7 separate regions of the Homo sapiens genome follow, and all the other regions are linked to region 1. Evidence: promoter capture Hi-C in 16 types of primary human blood cells and fetal thymus (Javierre and others, 2016). All regions are on one chromosome and are shown on one strand. Each heading gives the region's core, a stretch centred on a gene start or on the middle of the fragment in contact. The rest is flanking DNA. Distances are from core to core; before and after follow the strand shown. Region 1 holds the start of MRPL50 (mitochondrial ribosomal protein L50). Region 2 holds the start of IDNK (IDNK gluconokinase). Region 3 overlaps HNRNPK (heterogeneous nuclear ribonucleoprotein K). Region 4 holds the start of TNFSF8 (TNF superfamily member 8). Region 5 overlaps LOC105376335 (serine/arginine repetitive matrix protein 1-like). Region 6 holds the start of UBQLN1 (ubiquilin 1). Region 7 has its middle 7.9 kb from the start of NAA35.

Region 1 (2,869 bases), core at 168-2,667:
ATTAGAGAAACAGCAGATTCTTACCCAGTGAGACCAGGTTTCCATAATTCTCCATCATGACATCTTTATACAGGCTTCTCTGAGCTGGGTCCAGATAATCCCACTCCTCCTGGGTAAAAAACACAGCCACATCCTCAAATGTCAGCAACCCCTGAAATAGTATGATTTCTGTAGTCAGTTCCTGTTGTCTCAAGGACAATTCTACCACTAAAAGTGACAGAGGCAATCACTTATTGTGGCCAAGTAGGCTAGGAGGAACATGATAACTGAAAGTTCCATATGTTGCCCAATTCTGGGAACGAACTGTAACTGACAGACATCTCAGACTAGAAAGGACCTACGGATAAGGCTTTTCTGATTTATTATGCCCTGAGAGTTTAATTTTAGTAAACTGCCCCAAGGCCTCTCCAAGCTTCCCTCACCTCATTGCCTACTTCAATTTTCCATTTGCACTGGCTTGTGACTCTATTCAATTCAATTCCTTGAGGTTCTCTAAGCGTGTACCTTGGGGTCCAGGCACTGTGCCAGGAACAGAAGACACAAGGGAAGGTCAAAAATGGTGCTTCACCTGGAGAACTCACAAATGAGAGAGCTAGTCTGGAGCATTACTTATTTTCTCAGGCCGATTTATCAAGTCTCTCTAGAAAAAGAAAAAAAAAAAGGGAGCCAGTGGGCAGTTTGTTCGCGAACCGCACCCCAATGCACTAGTGGGGAGTTCCTTGCAAGGCGCTGGCCCTAAAGAGGCGGTCAGGAGGTTGGTGGGGGGCCTGGGGGAGAAAGCAGTGGTGCGGCCTAGCTGGGGTAGCGGCGAGACAACCGGGATCCCCGGGGGGGTGCTTACTTACCTTCGACTCCGGCGGGGGGCTCGGGGAAGCCATCTCCCAGGCAGAGAATAGGGGCAGGAATTGGGGGCGGCCTCACGGAAAGGAGCCTCTGGTGAGGCCTACCCGGCTGCTGGAAATTAGGCTCGACGAATACGAGGATCCCTGGCTGGGTCTGGCCAGTGCCTGCCTCGGCCCCCAGACGGTCACGACCCCAACAGCATATCAGACGCGATCCCTGGCTGTCCCCCAACCCCGAACCCCAACCCCTACTCCTGCCTGGTTACGCAGCCTTTCAGGCCTCGCTAGAGCCTCCTCCCCGCTGCCAGTTCCTCCTCCTTGCAGCCAAGTAACGCTATGACCGCCCGCCCCCGGACCAGAAGGCGTCACCCAGATTCTTCCCGAGGCCCCCTCAACTACAACTCCCGTCATGCTCGGAAAGAGCGCCGCGGTCCAGACGCCGCCAGCAACAGCTACTGGACTACATTTCCCAGCGTGCAAAGGGCGAGGGAGCCTACAGGAAAAAGAAAGCTCTTGCCACTGGGATTGTATCCGATTGGCTGGTCTGGGCGCGTCACTGCTGGCTGAAGGCTGCGCTCAGGCCCGTGGATCTCATCGAAGATGGCGGCGCGATCTGTGTCGGGCATTACCAGAAGAGTCTTCATGTGGACAGTCTCAGGGACACCATGTAGAGAATTTTGGTCTCGATTCAGGTAAAGCTTTATGGTGGACGGTGGGTCATGTTCAAGGAAAGTTAAGGAGGATTAGGGACGAATTCAAAATAGAGTGTTACGCCATCGTGGTCCCGCGCCTGATCAGAGCAAGGACAAGGAGGTCCGGTTAGGGTCCCGAGTTGAGAAGCACTCATTGAGTGGTGGGACCCAGTCTCTTCCACTCTCGGCCTTAGTTTTCTCATTTTATAACGGAAATACCACCCCCTTTCCTTTTCACTTCACTCATTCATTTATTTATTAAGCAAGCAGGATTAACCTCGTGTGCGAGACACCGAGTGTGTTGTCTGCAAACACATGAAAGCGCTTGGTAAACTAAACTCATTTGCCGGCTGTGTTTCTTCACAAGCAAGGTTCAGTAATGAAGTACTGCCTCCTCCTTTTGTTTGTTCATTCATTCAGTCATTCAACAGATTTCTTAGGGCCAGCATTACTCTAAGCGCCTAGGATACAGCAGGAAAAACAAAATCCATTCTCATCCTCGAGGTACTCCAACATATGAGGAAACAGGCCCACAGGAGGGAAGTGATTTTCCCAAAGTCACAAAGCAAGTTAATTGCAAAGCTGGATCTAGAACATATGTCTCCTAACTCCCCATCTACTGCTTTTTCTGCTGCACGGCTGCACCATGTGTAATTGTTTGAAGGTAAATCTAATTTGACTTAGATAGTGTTTAGGAAATCAAAACGTATGGTAGGAACCCTAGGGAGCAATGTATGCTCTCTTAGGTTTAAAACAAAAACCACTACAATTAGGAAAGATCTTTTTCATCAGTTCAGATATTAGCTTTCCCTCTTCTTTGGTCAATATTTGTTATTATCTCTCAAATCTCTTCCAAGTTTGTTTTATTCATTCACTCAACAAATATTTTTTAGGCTGTTTACTATATGCCAGGCTATATCTTAGGTGTTGTAAGAATACAGTGGTTACTAAAACAGACCAAATTTTTGTTCTCGTAGGGCATATGTTCTAATGGAGGAAGAAATGAACAAATGTGTAATGTAATTTCAGAAAGTGGTAAATTATGAAGAAAACTAGAGGAAATAGATTACTGAGAATGATGATTATATTTTCTTTACTATTTTAAAAATTTTATATATTTAAGATATACAACTTGATGTTGATTATTAGTCAAGATAATTATCATATTCATCTCTTCACATACTTTCTGTTTTGTTTTGTTTTAGAGAAAGGAGTTCTCACTATGTTGCACAGGCTGGTCTTGAACTCCTGGACTCAAGTAATTTTCCCACCTTGGCCTCCCAAATTGCTGGGATTCCAGGGGTGAGCCACCACACCTGGCCAGTTAGAATTTTT
Region 2 (3,002 bases), core at 318-2,817, about 18 Mb after region 1:
AAACAAAAGAAGCTAAGCCTCAGAACCATTGCACCTGCCATTCCCTCTGCCTGTCCTGCCCTTTCCTCAGCTATCCACATGGCAGGTTCCTCAAGTCTTGCAGGTCTTTGCTGAAACGCCACTCCCCCAGAGGAGACATCCCTGACCACTCTGCCTGGCACTCTTTGTTCCCCTTACTCCAGAGCATCTATCACCAACTCACACACTACATATATTCATTTACTCTGTCTCCCATACCAGAATGTAAATCCTTTGAGGGCAGGGATTTTATCTGTCCTGTTCGCTATATGACAATGACATAGAGTAAGGATTGAGCTCAATAATTACTGAGTACATGAATATCACAAGCTATACATCATAGGGATTAGGCCTCCCTCATCTGATTCAAGACTCAGAGGGGGTACATGAACTGCCCAGGCTCACACAGCCAGACAGCAACAGAACCAAGACCTAGGGCTCTTCACTCCTGTTACATCACACCATGGCAATGATTTTACATTCTCCAACTGATTCAAATCATATGGCAGCTAGGGATTTGGGGGCTCCATGTTTTATTTCAATTGCAGTTCAAGATTTCTTTTTATCTTTGTGGCTGAGAACCCTACAATAATTTTGGAAAGCAAAACCCATCTACCTGGAGTAAATCTTTAATATACACCTGACTACACAGGCCACAACATGGGCCGTTCCTGATTCAGAAAATTCTAGAAGGGTCCTATAGGCCCTTGAAGGTTATGATGTTTTAGCTGATCAAGTTCTGTCCTTTGCTGCCTGTGGTCGAATGGTACAGCAGCTGTCTTTTCTGATAAAGGGCACAGTTAGACTTTGGTTTAAACAGGAAGCCAAATGTTAACTCCTCAGTCTCCAGGTTAGCACACTGGGCTACCTCTGTGGTTTCCACAATTCTCTTCTTTCTTTCCAAACCCTCAGGAGCCACCCTCCATATTAACGCTGTCTCCTTCCAGGTTAAGCTGATGAAAGGAAGGGGAAAACGATTCACTTTCCAAAATTGAATCGGAGAAGTCCAGGGCCTCATAGGAGGAGGCCGCTGTGTGTCCAGATGGCCAAAGGTCTGTGAGAGCCTGGGCCGTGGTTTGCGTCCTCTCGCTAGAGGCCGTGCGCCCTCCCGCCTGGCCCCGACAAGGCGCCCCGAAACCTAGCCCCGCGCCGCTCGCTAGGCCTCCACCTGCGCGGCCCCGCAGCCGCCTGTTCAGGAGCGGCTTCCTCCCTGAGCCTGCGGTCGCCGCAGCCTCCCCGTCTTAGAGCGGGAACCCGGAGCTCGGATGCGGTCCCAGGATGGGCGCCCCGCGAGCAGGCTGGAGGGCGGGGAGAGGGCGCGGCAGCCGCGGGCCTCGGTTTCTTCATCTGCAAAGGGAAGGGTGGGGGGTCCCCAAGACCCCAGTCCACCGGCAGGGACGGCGACGCGTCCGGCCTCCGCCGCGCCCGCAACACTTGTCCCGGGCGCCCCCCGCCCTCTCCCGGACCTACTTCCCCGAGCCGCTCACGCCCATCACCAGCAGCGCGCCCGGCGCCGCCATAACCCAAGCTCGGCTCCTTCCCGTCGCCTTCCGGGCCCCGCCGGCCCCGGCCTACCCGGCGCTCGAGGGGCGGAGCCGCTCTCGCCCCGGCCGGGGCAGTGAGGGCCGTGCCCCTCTGCGCCCTCCCCGTTTTCCCGCGCCCCTTTTCCATGCTTTCCTCCTCCCTTTCCCAACCTCCCGGCCTCTCTCTCCTGCCCCTTCTTTTCCTCTCCCCTCCCCTCCCTCTTTCCTCTTCCCGGAAGTGAAGCGCGCGCCCGGCCTGGCACTCGCGTCTCCCTGGGCTGGAGGGAGCCGCCCAAAGCCCCGCCACCTGTCGTTCTACTGCCCCGGCCCCTCTTGGTTCCAGAGGATCCTCACCCTGGCAGGCCGGATCCTCATCCACCCATGGAAAGCATTCATTCATTCATTTATAAAAATGTTCTTGTAAAAAGAATAAACAGAAAATAAGACTCATAATTTCCCACACCAGGCAGCAATAAGCAGCACTTCCTAAAACGACTCCCCTTTCCCCGCGCCCCGTCGTAGATAGATGGGTATGAGTATTTTGTAAAACTGGGATCAGGCCGTACACAGCGTTTTGTAATCTGGCCTTTTGTCACAATAATAAATGGCGGCCATCTTTTGGTGTCAAACTTAGGGTTGAGTGTTGACCGTAGCAGCATATGTCTTGGCTGTATGGCTCTGCTGTTAAATCCAGCACTGGTTGGGGCTTTAAGAGGAAGGAGCACCACTTTAAAGTGTCCATTTGCTTTAAAACAATGTTAATTATGTGTCGTTTGAACTATTTGATTAAAAGCACTTCTTTTTTTTTTTGAGACGGAGTCTCGCTCTGTCGCCCAGGTGGGACTGCGGACTGCAGTGGCGCAATCTCGGCTCACTGCAAGCTCCGCTTCCCGGGTTCACGCCATTCTCCTGCCTCAGCCTCCCGAGTAGCTGGGACTACAGGCGCCCGCCACCGCGCCCGGCTAATTTTTTTTGTATTTTTAGTAGAGACGGGGTTTCACCTTGTTAGCCAGGATGGTCTCGATCTCCTGACCTCATGATCCACCCGCCTCGGCCTCCCAAAGTGATTAAAAGCACTTCTAACCGCATTTGGCATCACCTCCTTTGGTCTTTTGTTAACCAAGGTAGGTATTACTCTGTGTCCTAGAAAACAATAAAAGTGACATAAAAGCATTTATCTAATGAATAGTTCAATTACCCCTGCACTGCCTTTGTTTTTCATATACTTAGCCCGAGTAGGTGAGATTTCAATCTGGATGGGGGCTGTACAGGTGAAGAAATTGAGGCTTGGAGAGAGGTCTTACAATTCAGTTATGGTCAATACACATTTCTTGAACATCTACCATGTGCTGGTTAATATCATATTAATATTCATTTAAAAGATTACCCTCTAGGCATTCTCAAGCTTGATAAGAGGAATAGATGTGTATGCAAATACTCTTAACTCGTGCCCTGCTTCGC
Region 3 (2,926 bases), core at 238-2,737, about 17 Mb after region 1:
CCTATATTAGATTTTTGGATTTATCCCTCCGGTAGATTGTTCTGGTTGTTGGATGTGTTCGCAATTGCCGTTGTATTTGTAAACTTTAGAGATGTCACATAAGATCGCTTCAAGCATGAGTCGAAAGAAATAGGAAAGCAATTGGAAGTTTTAATATAAAATTAGTTTTCCCAGTGAATAAGATGCATTGTAACTTTTCATAAATGTATGCTTTGTGGATGACATTTATCTTTTCAGGGTTTTGGGAATGTGCCGTATAAAACAATTCATTGCTGTGGTGGGACTTAATCCAGTGGCTAAAAGTTATTGTTCTAACTTAGCAAAAAATGAAACCAGGCTCCCTTGAATTTTGTATTTTTTAGGCAGTCATTTGAATTGTGAAACCCTAAAATGAAGAATCAAGTTTTAGAAACAGCTGGTTTTTTGGGTTCAAATCAGTATTCACTGTGATCGGAAACAAATATTCAGTAATAAGAATAAACAAAAGCAAAACTGATTTGTGTTGGTTCTTATAGGCTACTGCAGCACTGGGGTGTCAGTTGTTGGTCCGACCCAGAACGCTTCAGTTCTGCTCTGCAAGGATATATAATAACTGGTACGTTCTAGAAGCAATGTCTTTTTTTTTTTTTTTTTTTTACAGCTTGCTTTCCAATAAGCCAAATGTACTAGCTGCTTTATTTTTCCACAGATTGGTGTGCCCGTTTAATAAAAGAATATGGAAACTGAACAGCCAGAAGAAACCTTCCCTAACACTGAAACCAATGGTGAATTTGGTGAGAAGAAATTTTAGTTTTAACAGTATTTTTTTATCCTGTTAATAAATTGCCTTTTTCTGTTAATTATTGCCTTAGGAGTGTGTGGTGAATTTTTGGTATTACTGTTTATGTAATTCTGCGATTATCAGTAGTTACATCTTAGCTTTTATTTATGAAGTAGAAGTAACTGATTTGCATATAAAGAATTTTTCTTGCATTTTGGGATTTCAAATCCTTTGAAGTATTTTGTGGCAGTATTTTGTGTTTGGTGCATTTTACTAGATGGAAGCATAACGTTCAAGTCTGTAGCAATGCCTTTGGTCTTTTCAAAACATGCCTAAGATTAGCAACAAGTCTCTTGAAACAGAATGGAGTTACTTTGGAGACTTCGCTGCTTTCTTTGAAATGTGAACTGTTAATTTTTAGGTAAACGCCCTGCAGAAGATATGGAAGAGGAACAAGCATTTAAAAGATCTAGAAACACTGATGAGATGGTTGAATTACGCATTCTGCTTCAGAGCAAGGTATAAATTTTATTCTTGAAAATTTGAAGGTGGTTCATACTCAGGTAGAAATTAAGGTCTGGTTTGGCTTTCTAGAAAGTCAAAGTTTTACAGATTGAAGAATATAAAACATTTGGTTCTTTCTAAACAGACTTGAAGGCTCTGGTGGTTTTCTTATTCCACTAACAGTTAAGATTAAAGCCCTTGCTGTAGTGAACCGCCACTACAGGTCAAACTAGGAGGAGAGTGTGATTCTTAAAGTGTTAATAGATTAAATCTTAATTATGTGTGGACTCCTTAGGAAACTGCTTGGTTGGCAGTTTATTGTTTGATCACAGGTCACAATATGAAGGTACCTACTAATACTAAATTAATTGACTTATTTTACCAAAGGGTGCTATAAAATCTGTGCTTAGTTTTATTTTATACTTGGTGTTATTTCTGACATTGAGTACTCCAAACTATCTAGTCCTCACAGCACTTAGAATTATATTTTGATTTTTGGTTTGGTTTTGGCCTGGTCGTTTTTACAACCCCAAATAGATTTTTATTCTTATAACAAACAGGTTAGAGGATTTTTTAGCAAAATCTAAGAGCGTAGGTAGCTATTAATTTTAGGGAAAGGCAAAATAATTTTTTGTCTTTGTATCTTCTCCAGAATGCTGGGGCAGTGATTGGAAAAGGAGGCAAGAATATTAAGGCTCTCCGTACAGACGTAAGTATTAAGAGTTTAAACTACTACACGAGCAGCTTCAGTTTATATGTCTATAGAAATTTAAAGATTTACATCCTAGAAATCATTTCATAGTTTAGCTACAAAGACATTTGTAATAATTTATTATTACAGAATTGATTTCGAAGTTATCCATTCCTGTTTTAACAAAAGCCCAGATTGAGCAGGGTGGGGGGGTGGTTTCTTTCAAACCTCTTCACATTTTAATAAGAGTCCACCAAATTATTCACTTCATCAAGCAAGATAACATCTTAATTAGAAATAGCGACAAAGTGTAAAAATCCTTGATTGCACCATTTCCTGTGTGTGAATCAATTACAGTATTACTGAAAACCATTGCAGGTGGCTGGTTAAATCCAGAAAAATTTTTTTGTTTTCTTTGGGAAGAAAAATGTCCATCTGTTCTTTAACAGCTTGCACATGGAGCACAAAGAATTTAATGTTGAGGTTGCATGATTTAAATATGGGTAAAGAATAGAGTAGGCACTTAATCTTATAATTGGGAAACTGTTCGTCAATGCCTATGATTTGTTTGAGTCTTCATTTTACAGTGGGTTGACTCTTGTGATTAGACACATTAAATGTTGGCAGTGCCAGAAGTGAGCACATTTATAGGACTTGGCTACACCAAAATTTCTAAATTTTTTTTCTCATAGTGTACACATTTCTTAATGTTTTTCTTGCTAAAAATGAGGCAAATAACTTTGTGTCGAGTACTTATTTGACAGTATTTCATTTCTCTCTTGGTCGCAGATCTTTGTATGTTCCTCTTGATTACTGTAAACTGAACTTGAAAATTTGTTTAAAATTTTACAAACTTGCCTGTTAGGATCTAGGAATGCATTTCAAAACCTCCAGAAAACCAAACCAGTCTTATTAGTTAGGGTTTTTGGTGGTGTGGGAATTTTTGTTTTGTCTTTTATAAACCTCTCTCC
Region 4 (3,221 bases), core at 692-3,191, about 14 Mb before region 1:
GGGAGCAGCTGGTTCTCAGCAACTCTGGGCAGACCACAGAGCCCTTGCTACCCACTCACTGTCCGTGCCCACCAGAGGACACAGCCTTCTCCCCAAATCAGCCAGGTACATGCCCCAGAAAACACTGGCTTGCCTCGTTCCCACCTTAATTACCGGACCAAACGAACGTGAACACACTGTTTTCAAAACCAAACTCAATTGGGATCACGGGGGCCTCGGTTTCCTTGATTGTAAAATGGGTATATCGCCCCCCACTCTATTTAGCCCAAGAAAACAATTTATCTCTTGATGTCTCTTTCGTCTCCAGGATCTATGCTTTTACAGACTCACTGGGAGGAAATATCCAGACCAAATCCTAAAGCCTGATCTAATTTGGGAGATGCTCAGAAGTTTTGGTTCTATGCAAGAACAGCAGTGGTAATAATCCAAGCTTGGCTTTAGACACAGGACGTTTCCTTAGGGGCATCTGGGATCTCTGCTGGCTCAAAGTGATGCGCTGCAGACAAAAAGTGAGCAGAAAGGAAAGGAGGTGCTATGCAGAATGAGCTTCTTCCACGGTGATACCAAATGGAGCTTTCAAAGGCCCACATCTGGAGGCAGCAGCTATGCAGTGATTAACATTTTAAACGGTATTTTGAAATGGAGATCATTAGTAACCACAGATGTGATCTGACTCTGTCCCCCAGGTAATCTGTCTATTGTATCTAAATTCCAGACTTAGCCCAGTAGACAGCTTGGGATGTTTAACAGGAATTGTCCAACACCATCCCCAAATCTATTTTTATTCATGGAGTACTCTGACATCATCTCGCTTGGTCTTCCTGATGACTGTAATGCAGATTGGGAACAGAGAAAGCCATAAAGACTTGTATGATGGCCCAAGGCTAAGAAGGGAAAGGGCTGAGACCACACTTCAGGTTTTAGCTTTCAGGTGCAGTGAAGATTGAATGACTTAGCACGAGCTTTCAGCCAGGCAGGCTGCAAAGTGCACCCAAGTTCTTTCAGTGATCGACACTTGCGACTTAGGTTGAGATAGTTTTCATCCTCCCTGAGCCTCAGTTTTCCCATCTGTAAAAAATAAACATTGCCTGCCTCGGAGGGTGGAGGTGGAAGTGGAATGAAGCCACATGTAACTCCTAGCGCTGTGCCTGAGACAGTAGAGGTTCAATTATAGTAGTCACATACACACACAACACATACATACACAAGACACAACACACCACACACAACACATACATACACACCACACACAACACTTACATACGCACCACACTCGGCATGCATTGCAGATCACAAATGCACACCACACACACACTGCATACATATACCATAGAGAACACACAACACCTACACATACCCCCATACCACAAATACACACACACTACATAGTACACCACGCAGAACACACACAGCCCCCATATTCCACACCACACCATCTCACTGCCAATTCCTTCCCCTCTTCATGAGTTTTACGGCAGGTCCAGGTTCATCTGCCAGTTTAACAGATCCCAAAACTTCTGCAGGAGTGTTTGTTCAAAAGATTGATATTTCCAGATTCCTGCTTTCTGACAGTATCTTTGAACCCCAAATTTCATACTGCCATGAGCCAGTCCCCCTTTGGAGAAATATCTCCATTTGTGTGCCCTTTTTCCCCCAGGGAACCTGCAGCATGTCCCTTTTTCAGCAGTAGCCTATCAAACCGAACCCTTTGGAGTTATTACACTGCAGTCCGAGGGATCCGGCCTCCCTGAGACCCAGCAAGGACTCATTATCTGGGGAGGTCTTCTGAGCCACAGGCCTCGCTGAAAGAAGGTGCAGCTTCTTGAACAGGAAGGCGTTTTGTGGCAGAGTCTAAACGAAACAGAAGTTGCTTTGTGTGTGCGCACGCATGCACACACACACACACACACACACACATACACACACACAGTCGGGGAACCGTCATTTTCCTACGCGCCCTCTGACATCAGCCACCTTCTCTGTAGCTAGTTTCTCTGCACACAACTTAATCCCTGGCAATGAAAAATGAACCTCTCCCCCACCCTTGCTGCCGCCTCTCGCCTCACGCCCCCAGAGAAGAGTTTCTCCACCAGGCAGCAGGTGAAGGTTTTTTTCCAAGTCACATGATTCAGGATTCAGGGGGAGAATCCTTCTTGGAACAGAGATGGGCCCAGAACTGAATCAGATGAAGAGAGATAAGGTGTGATGTGGGGAAGACTATATAAAGAATGGACCCAGGGCTGCAGCAAGCACTCAACGGAATGGCCCCTCCTGGAGACACAGCCATGCATGTGCCGGCGGGCTCCGTGGCCAGCCACCTGGGGACCACGAGCCGCAGCTATTTCTATTTGACCACAGCCACTCTGGCTCTGTGCCTTGTCTTCACGGTGGCCACTATTATGGTGTTGGTCGTTCAGAGGACGGTAAGTGGACTCCTCTTCCTCCCTTTCCTTTTCTTGTTGTTTTCCCGAGAGAAAGAGCCCTGGGAACAAATGATATTCGTTTGTTGGTTAAGAGCACAAAATAAAATTAAATAAATAAACTCTCTCTCTCTATATATATATATATACTATAGTATATACTGTATAACGTAATACACTTATGTTACATAATATATATTATATTATACAGTATATATTATATATATATATATATATGAGAAAGGGAGAAAAGAAAGAGGAACTTAACTCTCTAAAATAATTTGGCTTGTTGAGAAAAATATTGTTAGACCATCATCTTAAAACTTTGCAGATCTGTCTGAGCAAAACAGTGGAGGGGAGCTATTGGCCTTTTAAAGTTAAGATTTAAATCTTAATGAGCCAGAGACCCATATCAAGGAAGGAAGCAATAGAGAAACCTGATAACACATTTGCACAAGTTGTTATCATGTCTTCAAGGACTTCAGACTGGATTCTGAGGTTCTATATCCTAAGTCTGAGTGTCCTGGAGGTTTCTGAGGCCTCACCCATTGCCAAGAGTTTTGTTTTTGCTTTTGTTTTATACAAGGAGCTAAGTTTCAGAGGCCAAGGTCTAGAAGGAAAGGAGGCGAAAGAGAAGACCATGGCTTCTTAGAGCTTTGGACATTTTGGTGTTAAAGCCAGCAAGACAAATCGAAAGCTTCCTCTTAAGCCACAACTTTGAAGAAGTTAGGGCGTCACAAAAAAAAAAAAAAAAGAAACAGCACATAGAAGCAGAAAGTTGAAAGGTTTTTAGCACCTGTT
Region 5 (3,181 bases), core at 16-2,515, about 17 Mb after region 1:
TAGCTGGGATTACAGGCTCGTGCCACCACACCCAGCTAATTTTTGTATTTTTATTTTTATTATTTTATTTATTTTTTTTTGAGACGGACTCTCGCTCTGTTTCCCAGGCTGGAGTGCAGTGGCATGATTTTGGCTCACTGCAACCTCTGCCTCCCGGTTTCAAGTGATTCTTCTGCCTCAGCCTCCCGAGTAGCTGGGACTACAGGCACGCACCACCACACCCGGCTAATTTTTGTATTTTTAGTAGAGAGGGGTTTCACCATGTTGGCCAGGCTGGTCTCGAACTCCTGACCTCAAGTGATCCACCTGCCTTGGCCTCCCAAAGTGCTGGGATTACAGGCATGAGCCACTGTGCCTGGCCTTGTTTTCATTTATACACATACCTGTGTATTGAGTCATGATGTCAAGGGAATTTCTGATAGTGGCTCAGTATCAATCAAATTCGAAAGCCAGTGTCCTGGGCTTGCTTTTCAGATTGGGGTGATGGATTATTTCCTAGTCTTCCAAGGTTCCCCTCATGATTGGTGGAGATTGTGGTTGCCCAATTTGACCATAGGGCCAAGCAAATCCACCTGGCACCAGTTGACAGGACCCAAGCAGTATGTTTCCTTAGGAAAGCTAACATTCTCTGCACTAAGTTAAGGAGCCAAAGGCAAAATGATGGCACAGAAACCACCCCTCCCCCTTTTTTTTTCTCAGACGGAGTCTCACTCTGTCACCCAGGCTGGAGTGCAATGGCATGGTCTCGGGTCACTGCAATCTCCGCCTCCTGGGTTCAAGCGATTCTCCCACCTCAGCCTCCTGAGTAGCTGGGACTACAGGGCCATGCCACCATGCCCGGCTAATTTTTGTATTTTTAGCAGAGACGGGGTTTCACTATGTTGGCCAGGCTGGTCTCGAACTCCTGACCTCATGATCCGCCCGCCTCAGCCTCCCAAAGTGCTGGGATTACAGGCGTGCACCACCGCCCACCCCCATTTTTAAAGAAACCCCATTTTTAAAGTATAAAGCTTCTTTTCTCCCCGCCAGAGAAATTAAGGGAATTCATCAAACATTATAGCAACATTAAAAGAATTTAAAGTGGGAGAAGAGGTATGATCTGTGGTTTCCTTAATACTTCCTTTAATACTTCCTTTCTTTCCTGGATCCAGCTTTTCTCAAAATATGGGTGAGGGAAGATGATTTAGGCGAAAAGGGCACATATTTCTTTATTTAATTTGGTCTAGCTGTAATCTTCTGTTTGTTACTGCTTTTCTGGTAAAGTGGACTGGGCATGGATGTTTTTCTCTGTAGGACAAGCAGCCCAAAGCTGGTCTCCCATGGGACATATGCAGAGTTCTTCAGTGGACCTGAAAGATACAGTTCCCTTAAGGAGAAGACCTAGTTCCCTTAAGAAGATCCAGCACTGGCTCAATTACTTCTGCTAATCCCAAGCCCAGCTCCTCCCACTGCCTCTTACTGATGGGGACTTATCTGCAGGAGACAGTCCTCAAGACAATCTTCATGGGGCTCAAGCTTGGGTACCCTCCAAAGGATCCCCTGGACCATGAGCAAATCACAGCTTCTCCCCCTGCTAAACTGCAGGAACACAGACTGCTCTACTACAGCAACATCTCAGTTGCTTCGCTCCATTCTTGAGAAGAAGATCAGCTCACTTCTTCCCCTAGTTGCTCCCACCAGAAGGCCAGGTTTCCTCTTCTAGCACATCACACAGGGTTTGCCCGTCACTCTTAGAGCCTCCTTTGACTTAGGTGGGAGGCCTCTTACTCTCCAACCCACAAGGCCCAAGACCCCTTGACTCCACTGCCGAGTCTTTCTTACAGATACTTAAAAAAGAGATAGGATTGGAATTTGAATGGAATTAGCTTAGTCCTGCTATAAATCCTAGGGAGGAGGGGTTGGCAATGACTGGCATTCACTTCACAGTGTGGGGAACTTAAGTAACTCCTTTTCTCTAACTCTGGACTCAAGACATCAATTTGGGGACAATGGAAAATGCCCCATTCTAATGCTGTTGGGCATTTGCTGACCTCCTCTCTGCAATTGTGTGGCCTCTTGAGAACTTCTGTTGAGACTTCTGGGTATTCCTAGACTTAAATTGTTACGTACTATTAATTATTGAAGTTTTGTCAGCAGACCAGTCTGACTTACCAATTCACAGTCATGATGTGAGTTTTTGTTTGTTTTCAAAGAGTTCTAAAAATGCAACTTGGCCCTATAGTCAAATTGGGCAACCACAATCTCCACCAATCATGAGGGGAACCTTGGAAGACTAGGAAATAATCCATCACCCCAATCTGAAAAGCAAGCCCAGGACACTGGCTTTCGCATTTGATTGATACTGAGCCACTATCAGACATTCCCTTGACATCATGACTCAATACACAGGTATGTGTATAAATGAAATCTTAGAATTTTAAAAATTATGTATTATTTATTATTTTTTTGAGGTAGAGTCTCATTCTGTCACCCAGGCTGCAATGCCATGGTGCAACAACAGCTCACTGCAGCCTTGACCTCCCAGGCTCAAACCATTCTCTCACCTCCACCTCCAGAGTAACTGGAACTGCAGGCATACTCAGCCACACCTGGCTAAGTTTTGATTTTTTGTAGGGATGGGGGGTCTCATTATGTTGCCCAGGCTGGTCTCAAACTCCTGGGCTCAAGTGACCCTCCCAGTTCAGCCTCCCAAAGTGCTGAGATTACAGGTGTGAGCCACTGTGCCCAGACTGAATTTTTAAAATTTTAAATAATTCAGTTAAAAGAAAAAAAAATAAAAACTATAAATAAAATAGTCAGCTTTTTTCCCCCACCTTCATTCCTATATTTCATGAGAGAAGGAAGGGTTTTTGAAGATGCTTAGATTGTGCTACTAAAAACAGGAGGCATTAAAGCATTTAAAACTAAATTGGTAAAGTTAAATATTACCATACGACCCAGCAATTCCACTCTTACGTCCATACCTAAAAGACCTGAAAACAGGCTCGGCGCGGTGGCTCACGCCTATAATCCCAGCACTTTGGGAGGCCAAGGTGGGCGGATCACCTGAGGTCGGGAGTTCGAGCCCAGCCTGACCAACATGGTGAAACCCCGTCTCTACTAAAAATACAGAAAACTTAGCCAGGCGTGGTGGTGGCACATGCCTGTAATCCCAGCTACTCCAGAGGCTGAGGCAGGAGAA
Region 6 (3,026 bases), core at 114-2,613, about 18 Mb after region 1:
TGGCACTTTCTAGCTTTAGAAGCAGTGATCATCTCACACCTGGACATAACCAAGTAGTCATCCTTCATTAAGCAGAAGGCCTTGTTATTGAGCCATGCTGCCAGAAATTTAGGTGATATCAAATGATGTCTATACTGAAATCGATACCCTCAGGATTCTCTTAGACCCAGATTCCATAGAGCTCTGCTAAAAAGTCGTGTTTATGTAACAGTATTTATTCTCAGAACAGGGTTGGACGGCTTAGGAGCAGAAAGGCAGAATGTATCTTTGCGGATTTGGGTCATAGTGGGCTGTCAGGATTTAAATTGTGCAACATTGATTAATAATGGGCTGGTTTGTACATTCCTTGCAAGTCATCTTTAAAAGCCAATGACGTCATTTCAAATTAGGATTCTCAGAGATAATTTCTCTCTGTATTACACTGAAAATAATTTTGGAACTATCCTTAATGCCACTTAAAGCCTGAAATTGACCAGTAACTTAATTTGATAGAATATAAGGCGAACACCTCAACTATATTAAATTGTCCCATTTGGGTGGACACTCCTCGGGCACCCTGTTCCGCCCTACACACAGATAATCTGGGGGCGCTCGCGCACAGCTGTCATCGTAGCAGCAGAGGCCACTGTCAATACAGGTTGCCTGACTGATCGTCTGACCAAACCGGGCTAACCCGAGGGCGGTAAATAAGCTCTGGCCATGAAGCAATGACTCCGCAGGATTGCGCAGGGCAGTCACGGGCGTTCACTCCATTTTCTGTTCGTTGTGCTGAGGCCTTTCCACCATTAACTTACCCCAACTCCCCCGCATAGGGCAATACGACCCCTCCAAATATCAAACGCTAAGCATATTAAAATAACAAAATACCTCGCCGCTATTTTATCACCAGACCCTCCTCCCAGCGGGGAACGCAGAGTAGACAGAGAGGCAAGGGAGGGCAAGGCGATTGTGACAGCGCGGAGGGGTGAACACGGCCCAGCTGGGCATGAGGTAAGGTGGGGAGACTACCTGGACAGCAAGCGCGCAGGCGCAGCCGCGGCCGCAGGGCCCACTGGTCCCTTTCTAGTAATTTCGCTAACCGTGACGTCATCTCGGTGCGCCGTTACAGCGCTTAACTGGAAACTGCGATTTAGTTTTTGGTGAAAGGAGTGGAAAAAAACCATGAACTGACCTACCCCGCCCCATTTTGCTTTTAGTCCTTCACACTGGCTTCGCCTGCACTTTGGGCAATGGAGCGGGAAAGGAAAAGGCACGCAGGCTGAGCTCAAAGTCGCGCCAGCCGGGGATGACTCGGCGACGCCGCCAGGCGCGTTACCCGGCGTGCTCCGCGCGGCGCCGGCGAAGGGACGTGGGGGAAGGGGCAGGGAGGAGGAAGCGGTGGCTGCTGCGGATGTCGGTGTGAGCGAGCGGCGCCTGAACACACGGCGGCTGCCGAGCGCCTGACCCGGGCCTGCGCCAGAGCCTGCACCGAGCTCCGGGGCCCCACACCCGCTACGGTGGCCCTGCGCCCGTTGCTACTGAGGCGGCGTGCTCTGCATTCTTCGCTGTCCAGGCCTGCCGGCTCTGGTGTCTGCTGGCTCCTCCTTGCTCGCCTGCTCCCTCCTGCTTGCCTGAGTCACCGCCGCCGCCGCCGCCACAGCCATGGCCGAGAGTGGTGAAAGCGGCGGTCCTCCGGGCTCCCAGGATAGCGCCGCCGGAGCCGAAGGTGCTGGCGCCCCCGCGGCCGCTGCCTCCGCGGAGCCCAAAATCATGAAAGTCACCGTGAAGACCCCGAAGGAAAAGGAGGAATTCGCCGTGCCCGAGAATAGCTCCGTCCAGCAGGTGAGGCCGCCTGGGGCTCGGGCCGGGATGGGGGTGGCGGCAGGACCTCCGCCCGCCGCCCCAGGAGACCTTTTGGAAGGGCCTGGGAGAGGGGTCGTCCTCGGCCATTCTCCCGGGCGTCGTCCCAAATTAGATCACACCCAAGTTCGTGGGTTTGCGCCTTGGGACACCGCAATGGTTTGTGGCGTGGCGGCGCGGCCTGTTTGTGGGACGGGCTGATGCCGCTTTTCTCGGAGCCTTCCTTCTCTGGTATCCGCCGACCCTCAGCCTCCTCCCCCAGTTCCCCGCCCTCCGTCGCCTCCCCTCCAACTCCTCACAAAGGAAAGGGACCCACCGCCAGCCTCCGGGCGGGGTGGAGGCTGGGCGGGGGCGAGGGTTCGCTTTAGCTCAGGCTGCGGTTTTGTTTCATGAATTAAAAAGGGGTGGGTGGGATCCTCGTTGTTTTACGTGCCTGCTTGTTAAGGTGGGTTTTGGGGTGAGGTGCATGTGTATATTTAGTTCTGCATTTTAACTCCTGAAATCTTTCCCACCTTGCAACCTTTAAAAAAAAATTATGACGTAGAAACTGTTTTTAGCTCCATCTTAAGTAATAGTGATAGTACTAGGTTTAAGGAGAAAAGTGAATGACTTTCTTTCACTGATGACTTGCTCTTTCCCTTTTAGTATGTTTATCATCTCTTAGATGCCAATCATTGGGTAGGTTTTTGTTTGATTTTAGAGGGGCGATAGCGATGTTGATATTAGCGGTTGCAATCAAATAAAAGAAAATCGGAGTGAATGCAGAATATTACTTAAACTTGGTTCAGGAATACAAATCTTGCAGTTAATTAAGATTCTTGGTGGAATTTAACAAATAATTTTAGTGTATTGTTGAATACGTCGTGTTTTCCATAATTACTGACTTAATCTCTGAAGATCGCAAACAACGTGAACAGTTGGTGACAGGAAACAACAATTCCTGAAATGTACCTATCAGTTTCCCCAGGGACAGTAGGTGATTGGGGTATTGGTTTAACGAGTTCCAAAGGTAGTGTATTTTGTGAAGCAGTGAGGTGTGTAACATCAAATGAGAGAAACTTTTACCACCAACAGAATTATCACTTTTGTTTTTGTCTCCCAGTGCTTGTAAAAATTTTCCTTACCATTTTTGTATTTTCAAGCATGCGGAAAGTTGAAAGAATTGGGAAGTGGATACACATATGTCC
Region 7 (3,200 bases), core at 634-3,133, about 15 Mb after region 1:
GTTATGTCTTTTCAGGAGTTGAATTGAGTTCATCCTTGGTAAATAAACAGATTTCTTCTAAATGTGATTGAATACCATGAGGCAAGCCCAATCTGACCCTCAGTTCTTTACTTGGAATTTTCCATAATACCACCATTAAAAATACATTTTCATTCTTGTTCAAAAGCAATCCATGATCATTTTTCCTGGACTTGCAATGTGTCAACAGAGTGTCCACTGCCTTTTCAACCTGCTCTTTGTCCAGCTGCTTCAGTGCTTTTGGGGACTCTGGAATCGAGCTAGAGGTTGCAGTCACGCCTGAAGTTGATTTTGTTTTCATCTCATAAAGATGCGCCTAGAATTTGATTTTTATTTCCACAAGCTGTGTATGAGAGAGTGCTTGCTTTCCCATAGCCTTTATCAATAAAGTATATGGTCAAACTTTTGGAATTTTGCCAAGCTGTTAAGTGATAAAAATGTTCAGTATAGCTGTAATTCGCATTCTTTTATCATGAGTGGGGTGGAGAATCTATCTTTTTAATGACTATTTGCATCTTTTTCTATGATCAGTCTGTGCCTGTCTCTAACCCATTTTTCTATAGGATCATTGATTATTATTATTATTATTATTATTATTATTATTATTATTATTATTTTGGAGACAGAGTTTCGCTCTTGTTGCCCAGGCTGGAGTGTAGTGGTGCGATCTTGGCTCACTGCAACCTCCGCCTCCCAGGTTCAAGCGATTCTCCTGCCTCAGCCTCCCAAATAGCTGGGATTACAGGCACGCACCACCACACCTGGCTACTTTTTTGGGGTTTTTTTGTTTGTTTTTTTTTTTGAGATGGAGTCTCGCTGTGTCGCCCAGGCTGGTGTGCAGTGGCACGATCTCGGCTCACTGCCAGCTCCACCTCCCGGGTTCACGCCATTCTCCTGCCTCAGCCTCCCGAATAGCTGGGACTACAGGTGCCTGCCACCACGCCCAGCTAATTTTTTTGTATTTTTAGTAGATACGGGGTTTCACCGTGTTAGCCAGGATGGTCTCGATCTCCTGACCTCGTGATCTGCCTGCCTCAGCCTCCCAAAGTGCTGGGATTACAGGCGTGAGCCACCACACCTGGCTGATTATTTTCTTTTCTGTTTTTAAGAAGCTGTATATATTAACTCTTGATTGAAGCTGCAGTTTTTGTAAGCCAGTGTGTCATTTGCCCTTTTTACTTTGTTTTGGTATTTGCTATGTGAAACTGTTTTTGGTCCATTTTGCCAATAAAGACATCATTTACAACTAGGGGTATTACAGTGATTTCATTAAAAAAAATGATGCAAAAGAAGTGAGCTTCAAATGGCCTACTGAGGAACCCCAACATTTAGAGGTCAGGTAGAGTAAGAGGACCTAATAAAGGGCTCAGAGTAAACAGCAGAAGAAAAACCAGAAGAGTGTGGTTCACTGAATCTGAGAGAGACGTTAACTCCCAATTATTATCCTAATAATATACATACATAACATAATATTTAATATATGTTTTCCTTTTAAAATTCCTATTCAAATAACTTTTACATTAGTAATTTTCAAGCAGCTTCCTGGGGTCTATCAATATGTGAATTTTTTACTAAAAAAATAACTACTACATTTATAGATTTTTTTACATTTCATCAATGAATTGTCTAATGCATAGATATTGAAATTCTTAAGTTTCTTTCAAAAGGGAAATGAACATAAGACAAATATCAACCAATTGCAGATACAATGTAAAATTAATAAACTTAGGCTGGGTGCAGTTGGCTCACGCCTGTAATCCCAGCACTTTGGGAGGCTGAGGCGGGGAGGATTGCTTGAGCCCAGGAGTTCGAGACCAGCCTGGGCAACCTGGGAAAACCCTGTCTCTACAAACAAACAAACAAAAAAAAAAAAACCCACAAAAATAATTATCCAGGCGTGGTGGCATGTGCCTATAGTCCCTGCTACTTGGGAGGCTGAGGCCAGAGGATCACCTGAGCACAGGAGGTCAAGGCTGCAGTGAGCTGAGATTGCACCACTGCACTCCAGCCTAGGCGACAGTGAAACCCTGCCTCATAAATAAATAAATAAATATAAATTTAAAAGTAGAAAGAATAAATATTGAAAAGACTTATGAATTAGATAAACTTTAGGTCCTATTTGAAATAAACTGTAAACAATTTGAAGCCATTGAATAAATGTGAACACTGACCGGATATTTGATGATATTAAGAAATTAAAATTGGCCAGGCGCAGTGGCTCACGCCTGTAATCCCAACACTTTGGGAAGCCGAGGTGGGTGGATCATGAGGTCAAGAGTTCAAGACCAGCCTGGCCAAGATGGTGAAACCCCATCTCTACTAAAAATACAAAAAATTAGCCGGGAGCGGTAGCAGGCACCTGTAATCCCAGCTACTCAGGAGGCTGAGGCAGGACATCGCTTGAACTCGGAGGGCAGAGGTTGCAGTGAGCCAAGATCGCACCACTGCACTCCAGCCTGGGTGACAGAGTGAGACTCTGTCTCAAAAAAAAAAAAAAAAAATAGAAAAAGACATTAAAATTTTCAGGTGGGATAATGACATTGTAGTAACCTTTTTAAAAAATGTGTGTCTTTCGGAGAGCCATACTGGAATACTTATGAGTGAAAATATATGATGTTTGATATTTGCCTCAGAATCATTCAGTGGGGCTGGGGATGAGTGGATAGAGGGAATAAGATTTGCTGACAATTGTGGAAGATGGTGATGAATATAAGAGTTCATTTTACTACTCTTTCTACTTTTGTACTTATTTAATGTTTTCATAATAAGAGTTTTCAAAACTGGGCACAGTAGCTCACACCTATAATCCCAGCACTTTGGGAGGCTGAGGTGGGGGGATTGACTGAGCCCAGGAATTCAAGACCAGCCTGAGCAACCTAGTGAGATCCTGTCTCTACAAATTTTAAAAGTTAGCTGGGCATGGTGGTGTGGCCTATAGTCCCAGCTACTCAGGAGGCTGAGGCAAGAGGATCCTTGAGCCCAGGAATTCTAGGCAGCAGTGAGCTATGATCACACCCTAGCCTGGGGCACAAAGCAAGACCCTGTCTCAAAAAAAGAAAGAAGTTTTCTAAAAGAGAAAATAATAATCAAATTTCAGTTTCTATTGGCTTTATCTCATTGAAGGAGAAAATAATCATTACTCTGCTGTATTACCATTGTCCCAGAAATACGAGTAACATGAA

Evidence for each region. Contacts are between HindIII fragments. The CHiCAGO score rates a contact against its expected background, and 5 or more counts as called.
Region 2: a contact is called between the fragment with the promoter of IDNK here and the fragment with the promoter of MRPL50 in region 1, in 4 of 17 cell types (total CD4 T cells, fetal thymus, naive CD8 T cells and 1 more). The highest score is 10.5, in total CD4 T cells.
Region 3: a fragment that was not itself captured here is called in contact with the fragment with the promoter of MRPL50 in region 1 in 2 of 17 cell types (non-activated CD4 T cells and activated CD4 T cells); the score reaches 9.0 in non-activated CD4 T cells.
Region 4: a contact is called between the fragment with the promoter of TNFSF8 here and the fragment with the promoter of MRPL50 in region 1, in 1 of 17 cell types (fetal thymus). The highest score is 5.5, in fetal thymus.
Region 5: a contact is called between a fragment that was not itself captured here and the fragment with the promoter of MRPL50 in region 1, in 2 of 17 cell types (naive CD8 T cells and activated CD4 T cells). The highest score is 6.6, in naive CD8 T cells.
Region 6: a contact is called between the fragment with the promoter of UBQLN1 here and the fragment with the promoter of MRPL50 in region 1, in 3 of 17 cell types (non-activated CD4 T cells, total B cells and total CD4 T cells). The highest score is 11.0, in non-activated CD4 T cells.
Region 7: a fragment that was not itself captured here is called in contact with the fragment with the promoter of MRPL50 in region 1 in 1 of 17 cell types (non-activated CD4 T cells); the score reaches 8.7 in non-activated CD4 T cells.

The regions. Positions count from the first base shown.
Region 1 is chr9:101,397,166-101,400,034 of GRCh38, reverse strand. It overlaps MRPL50 (mitochondrial ribosomal protein L50), which reads left to right and starts at 1,417. Exons shown (of 2, transcript NM_019051.3): 1 at 1,417-1,534. The coding sequence starts at 1,443. It overlaps ZNF189 (zinc finger protein 189), which reads right to left and starts at 1,184. Exons shown (of 3, transcript NM_003452.4): 1 at 846-1,184; 2 at 25-151. The coding sequence starts at 878. RefSeq lists enhancers at 1,184-1,713, 1,246-1,774, 1,775-2,304. The HindIII fragment of the contact is 1,128 bases long and covers 415-1,542 here.
Region 2 is chr9:83,621,708-83,624,709 of GRCh38, reverse strand. It overlaps IDNK (IDNK gluconokinase), which reads right to left and starts at 1,567. Exons shown (of 5, transcript NM_001001551.4): 1 at 1,489-1,567. The coding sequence starts at 1,538. RefSeq lists enhancers at 963-1,012, 1,033-1,162 and a silencer at 1,343-1,872. The HindIII fragment of the contact is 10,566 bases long and covers 1-2,948 here.
Region 3 is chr9:83,976,042-83,978,967 of GRCh38, reverse strand. It overlaps HNRNPK (heterogeneous nuclear ribonucleoprotein K), which reads left to right. Exons shown (of 17, transcript NM_031263.4): 2 at 516-595; 3 at 689-773; 4 at 1,182-1,279; 5 at 1,917-1,973. The coding sequence starts at 716. Among named protein-coding and RNA genes, the nearest start is that of HNRNPK, 2.7 kb to the left of the region's middle. The HindIII fragment of the contact is 3,362 bases long and covers 1-2,926 here.
Region 4 is chr9:114,929,311-114,932,531 of GRCh38, reverse strand. TNFSF8 (TNF superfamily member 8) reads left to right here and starts at 1,941. Exons shown (of 4, transcript NM_001244.4): 1 at 1,941-2,423. The coding sequence starts at 2,229. RefSeq lists an enhancer at 2,288-2,847. The HindIII fragment of the contact is 2,687 bases long and covers 433-3,119 here.
Region 5 is chr9:83,922,834-83,926,014 of GRCh38, reverse strand. It overlaps LOC105376335 (serine/arginine repetitive matrix protein 1-like), which reads right to left. Exons shown (of 3, transcript XM_011519284.2): 3 at 1,130-1,349. The coding sequence ends at 1,213. Among named protein-coding and RNA genes, the nearest start is that of KIF27, 3.0 kb to the right of the region's middle. The HindIII fragment of the contact is 505 bases long and covers 1,013-1,517 here.
Region 6 is chr9:83,706,295-83,709,320 of GRCh38, reverse strand. It overlaps UBQLN1 (ubiquilin 1), which reads left to right and starts at 1,363. Exons shown (of 11, transcript NM_013438.5): 1 at 1,363-1,821. The coding sequence starts at 1,642. UBQLN1-AS1 (UBQLN1 antisense RNA 1) reads right to left here and starts at 1,486. Exons shown (of 2, transcript NR_135839.1): 1 at 1,009-1,486. RefSeq lists enhancers at 561-1,449, 1,613-1,682, 1,450-2,340. The HindIII fragment of the contact is 7,028 bases long and covers 1-3,026 here.
Region 7 is chr9:85,931,695-85,934,894 of GRCh38, reverse strand. It overlaps the pseudogene LOC100130049. Among named protein-coding and RNA genes, the nearest start is that of NAA35, 7.9 kb to the left of the region's middle. The HindIII fragment of the contact is 3,789 bases long and covers 1-3,200 here.